Linked DNA regions of Homo sapiens: region 2 is linked to region 1. Evidence: promoter capture Hi-C in 16 types of primary human blood cells and fetal thymus (Javierre and others, 2016). All regions are on one chromosome and are shown on one strand. Each heading gives the region's core, a stretch centred on a gene start or on the middle of the fragment in contact. The rest is flanking DNA. Distances are from core to core; before and after follow the strand shown.

Region 1 (2,727 bases), core at 161-2,660:
CCATCTCAGTTTTCCAGCGTTAAAGAGGGAGGACATGTGCAATTGGAACTGTAAGAGACAGGCTAGAAGAATCAGCCATCAGAAAATTACTCTGAAGCTGCTTGCTCTTCATTGTATGGCGTGTTAATTTTTCCCCTTGACAAATCATCTGTATCCGTTAAAAAAAAAAAAGTCATTACTGAGACTGCATCTTTAGCAATGAACACGAATTCTGCCGTTAATACAAGTAGGCTTCTAATTCCAACTCACCAGTCCCTTTCACTGGACCTTTTCCAATGAACAAGCAAAAGAAAAAATAAAACAGGAAAGGAATCAAGAAGCTCCCGCTGCACAGAGATCCCCCTAACACCTAAACCGGTTGGGTCCTACACTCGCCAAGAAACAAAAGGATGCCAAAACACCTTTACTTTTCGACACAACTCACAAGGCGGACTAAAATGCACAGCAAAGTGACAAGGCCCTTTTTGGTGAACCGACAAAACAAGCTTTCATTTGGGCACTTTTACAGACCACCACTTAAGGTCCCGAAAGAAGCTAAGGAAAGACTGTAGGGCCGAGGGAGGAAATTAGGAATTTCGTCTCCGAGTTTTCAGTACCTCATTCATGGCAAGACTCAAAACTTGGGCGGACTTCAGGGCTCTGAGACGAGCCGGGTGAGCGCTGCGCGCTACGCCACTGGAGACTTTGCCCGGCCGGAGTCAGCTGAGGCCGAGTCACCGGGTGGGATGGGGGAGGAGACGCGGGAGCATTTCGAAAGGCAGCGTGCCAGTAAGGCGAGACTCCACGCCACCTCATGTTCCCCGGGCCGCCGCCCCTCGCTCGCCCGCCCTCCGGTCCGGTCCGGCTGGGTTTCGAACCCGCGGAGCCAGGCGCAGGCGGCGGGACGGCAGCAGGCGTGCGGGGCCAGGGAGCGGGCGCGGCCTGGCAGGGCGACCGGCGAGGGGCGTGCCGGGTGGGAGGGGCGCGCTGGCCGCCTGGCCGGCCCCACGCGGGGACCCCAGCCCGCCGCCCGCCCGCCCGCGCGGGGACGCGCCGGCCAGGCCCGAGCGGGCGGGCAGGCGGGCGAGCAGGGGGCGGGCGGCAGACCGAACAAAAACGCCTTTGTTGAGCGGCAGCCGCCGGAGGGTCACACACAATGGAGGAGGGAGCCGGCTCCGCCGTCGCCGCCGCCGCCGCCGCCGCCGGGCCCGCCGCGGCGCCCTCCCGAGCCGCCCCGCCGGCGCACCCCGCACACGTACACACACACACTCACGGGACTTCTCCGACTCATCGAGAGAGTGCGGGGCTCGCGGACTGCCCCCAGTGTCGGCTCAGGTCTCCGGCTGTGCTGGCGGCAGCGGCGTCTCCGAGGCTCTCGCTTTGCCGCAGTCGCCGCCATGTAACCCCGACCCGCGAGAGAGGGCGAGGAAGAGGGGGCGGGGCTTCGCGGTGCCACGCCCCCTCACGTCACAGGCTCACTCCACGGGTTCTCCCGCCCCCGCCCTGCCCAGCGCACCCGCACGCGCCGGAATTTCCAGCGCCCGTGACTGGGCTGCGCGCGCCGCGGAGGCGGTGGGAAAGGCACGCGGCTCGTCCGGCGTCTCCTGGGGGCTTTGCCTGCGGGCGGGCAGGGAGGAAGACAGCTGGGGCCGTTTGCTCTACTACCTGCCCTGGCATTAAGGGAACAAAGTGACCAAACCCAGTGCCAGCGTTTACTAAGCACCTACTACGTGCAAGGCACTGGGCAATCCGAGAGGAAGAGGCCTCAGTCTCCAGGAAGGGTGGACCTTAAGATGGATTGGCTGGAAGGCGACAGCCCGAGCACAAGACAGACGCGTTAGAGGCCAATACTAAGGTCATTCATTCTGCCAGAGTATGGAGGAAGGCTTTCAGGAGTGGTCGCCAAGGTGGCCTTTCAGCTGGATCCCGGAGGAGCGGATATAACCAGGAGGTGGGGAGGGTGTTTCTGTGAGCAAAGACTGGGAGGCCAGAGTACCTGGCTTGTTGCAGGAACTGGGATAGGACAATTTGAATTTGGGAAGGGATGCACTATGAAACGTAGAAAGGTGGATGGGTGCCTTCTTGGGCCCACTTGGCTAAAAGCAAACTTACATTACTTATCATGGCTTATTGAGTCCAAGGAGCCTTTTCAGTGTTTATGTGAAATTTAAGTATTTATGAAATTAGAGACGCAGGTCAGCATATTTTTTCAATGACTTCATCACCATCTTGCTGAGAACCAGACATAGAATAGCCCTTCTAGTCATTATTATGGGCATCTTCAAGAAAGAGGCAAAGACCACTTCAAAAAGATCACAAAGGGCCAGGCGTGGTGGTTCACGCCTGTAATCCTAGCACTTTGGGAGGCCGAGACGGGCAGATCACCTGAGGCCAGGAGTTCGAGACCAGCATGGCCAACATGGTGAAAGCCCCGTCTCCACTAAAAATACAAAAAGTAGCCGGGTGTGGTGGCTCACACCTGTAATCCCAGCTACTCGGGAGGCTGAGGCAGGAGAATAGCTTGAACCCCGCGGGGGGTTGCAGTGAGCCGAGATCGCGCCAGGACACTCCAGCCTGGGCGAAAGGGCGAAACTCTGTCTCAAAAAAAAAAATCACAGAGTAATGAAGTTAAGTGGTTGGGGTGAGCTTGAATGCTTTATATTTTTTAATATTTAAAACAACGTCAGCTGAGTACCAGGTGTGAAGAAGAGGTAATGAGTGAAAAAAACCAAGAGAAAGGGGAGACTT
Region 2 (2,727 bases), core at 64-2,563, 3.2 Mb before region 1:
TTACCCCCATCTTGGCTGCTCTCTCTGTCTCTTACCACTTTCTCCTTGTCACTTGTTGAAATAGTTAAGTCACAGAGGTATGACCCTGCAGCCATAAGAATACAAACAACCATTTTTCTTCTTTCTTGGTGCTTCTGCTGCCCACAAGACAGGAACTGTGGCAGAAAGGGAACGGTCTGGTGAAATCTTGCTGGCTGGCAGGATGGCGTCACGGCAACTAGGCTGCCTCTCTCTGCGGCTGTTTCAGCTTCCGCCCTCTCTGGACCCTCGGTACCTGAGTGCTCATAGGGGAAACTGTCTTCTTCCTGCCTCCATTTCTGTTTTTCCTCAGTAGGATTAAGGCTTCTTGAGATATCTGCTCATCTTTTGCTATTATTCCTTTCTTCTCCCTTTGAACTTGTTTGATTTAGAGCCAGAGCTCAGGCTATAGCATACGTGATAGCTGATGAGTCATGTGAAGCCCATTAAAAGCAAAAGCTGATTATCACAAGAACCATTATTTATTTGCGCTGTCTATGCAACAGCACATTTTCTTTTGCGCTTCTGGTGTTGCTGCAGCGTGGCTGGGGCCCTGCCCTCTTGGCAGAGCAGAGGTCCTGTGGTGTAGGCTGGGGGGCAGGTAGGGGAAGTGGGTGATGGATGAGATGGGGTGCTGCTTGAGAAATGAGCTATCTTTGCTGCTGCTTCTCTGAAGGCAGAATCTGCTTTGCTCAAACACGGGTATAAATCATCCTTTCAAGAGCTGAGAGCATCCATTTTTGTTTGTTTTTCTTGTTTTCCCCGTTTCATACCCTATCAGGCCTCCTTTCTTGATGACATAGTCTAAGCTGGAATCTTTTAGCTATCTTTTAGCTAGATGGTAAATCCAGCAAATAGCTCAATGATAAGTCCATTCATCCAGCAAACAGTGAATGGATTTGCCATTTTCACACGGAGAAGGCCCAGACCACTTCAAGTTTGTACCTCTGTGGTGTGGCAACTGAGCCAGCCTGTGGACAATCACTGCTTGAAAAATCTCCTTCCTAGTGTCCTTCTTGTATCTGTCTTGCTGCTCCTTACATTTTTGTTCTCTCTTCACTCTAAATGTCCATCTCATTTTTCCCATGGCCTAAGGAAATACTATTATGTTGATGACACTAAAATTCATAGCCATATTCTTCTTGTGAGCCCTAGGTCTGTTTTCCAAATGCAAATTAAACACAACTCCCTTGATGTCCCTCAGACATGAGAGATGTTTAACTGGTTGTGTACCGTACAGTGTAATGTGGTAGTTGAGAGTGTGTCTGAGATCACATCTTGGTTCTGCCATTTCTGGCTGTGTGACCTTGGGCAACTTTATTAACCTTTCTGTGCATTGGTATTTTTCATCTGTAGATTTAGGGACCTTATACGGTTGTTGTGAAGACTAAATGAGTTAGTGCTTTAAAGGATTTAGAATAGTGCTTAGTGTTAGTTATAATAATTATCATCTTCTCAAACCATCTTTTCCTTTTTCAGTTAATGTTATACCATTTATTTACCAAACTAAAAGTTTTGGTTATCTTTAATTTCTATACTAGTCTGTTAAGAAGTTATATTGATTTCTACCTCCTAAATATATCTCAAATTAATCACTTCTTCTTCATCCCTACTGTCACCAACACAATTCAAACCCTCAAAATCTCTCTCCATATGTCTTAACCAGTTCAAACTGTTATAACAAAGTACCATAGACTGGATAGCTTGCAAACAACGGAAATTTATTCCTCATTGTTCTAGAGGCTGAAAGTCTGAGATCAGGGTATCAGCATGCTCAGATTTTGGTGAGAGCTCTCTTCCAGGTTGCAGACACTTGACTTTTCACTGTATTCTCACAAGGCAGAAAGGTAGCTCTCTGGCCTCTTCTTATAGGGGCACTAATCCCCTTCATGAAGGATCTATCCTCAAAACCTAATTACTTCCCAAAGACCTGCCTCCTTATACCATCACATTGGGGATTAGATTTCAACATACAAATTTTGGGGAGACACAAACATTCAGTCGGTAACATTAGAGCCTTCTGATGCTCTGTGTATTTCCAGTCTCCATGTGGCTGCCATAGAGATCTTTCTAAGGCACACATCTCATGGTCCTCTCCTGCATAAAGAGCCCGTGGTGGCCTTCTGTTGCCCAGAGGATAACACACAAACTTTTTAGTGCCATGTCACAGTCCTTTTAGACCCAGGTCTCAAACACTTTCCCATGTTTTCAGCCTCTGTTCTGGATACATTCTCCCCTACCTCCATGCATCCCTTCAGCCACATCCACTGCTGAAGTCCTTTAATGCATCCTAAGTAACCTTAGCCTCTTACACCTTTGCAAGCGCAAACCCTCAAACCCTTACCTGCCCGCATCAGTCAGCCCAAGATGTGTTCCCTCCTGACGGTTCGAAACCTGGTCTTTTTTTTTTTTTTAATTTTGAGCATCAGGCATTCCTTACCAAATTCCATCAAAACTCAGTTACATGTTTTGGATTGGCATCAAGAATTATTTGCTTATAGTTTCTGTTATCTTGAAAGGATAATGCTTATTTGGCTGACATGTGAGGTAAAGTCGTTCCCCACATTATCTAGTGCACTGTGTAATTTTTGTCCATTCACATCTGTCACTTGTCCTTATGTGTGCCTGTACACTCACATTCTGACTTTAGTCCTTAGCTCAGATGCCCCTGTGTGAAGTTTTTCTGATTCCCTCCTTAGACATTGTGGG

Evidence for each region. Contacts are between HindIII fragments. The CHiCAGO score rates a contact against its expected background, and 5 or more counts as called.
Region 2: a fragment that was not itself captured here is called in contact with the fragment with the promoter of MAPK6 in region 1 in 1 of 17 cell types (total CD8 T cells); the score reaches 5.9 in total CD8 T cells.

Annotation. Positions count from the first base shown.
Region 1 is chr15:52,017,902-52,020,628 of GRCh38, reverse strand. MAPK6 (mitogen-activated protein kinase 6) reads right to left here and starts at 1,410. Exons shown (of 6, transcript NM_002748.4): 1 at 1,253-1,410. It overlaps MAPK6-DT (MAPK6 divergent transcript), which reads left to right and starts at 1,534. Exons shown (of 2, transcript NR_156732.1): 1 at 1,534-1,930. RefSeq lists enhancers at 350-399, 1,740-1,809 and silencers at 650-1,159, 1,460-1,569. The HindIII fragment of the contact is 8,244 bases long and covers 488-2,727 here.
Region 2 is chr15:55,265,343-55,268,069 of GRCh38, reverse strand. The region is part of intron 2 of RAB27A (RAB27A, member RAS oncogene family); the gene reads left to right. Among named protein-coding and RNA genes, the nearest start is that of RAB27A, 23 kb to the left of the region's middle. The HindIII fragment of the contact is 4,044 bases long and covers 1-2,727 here.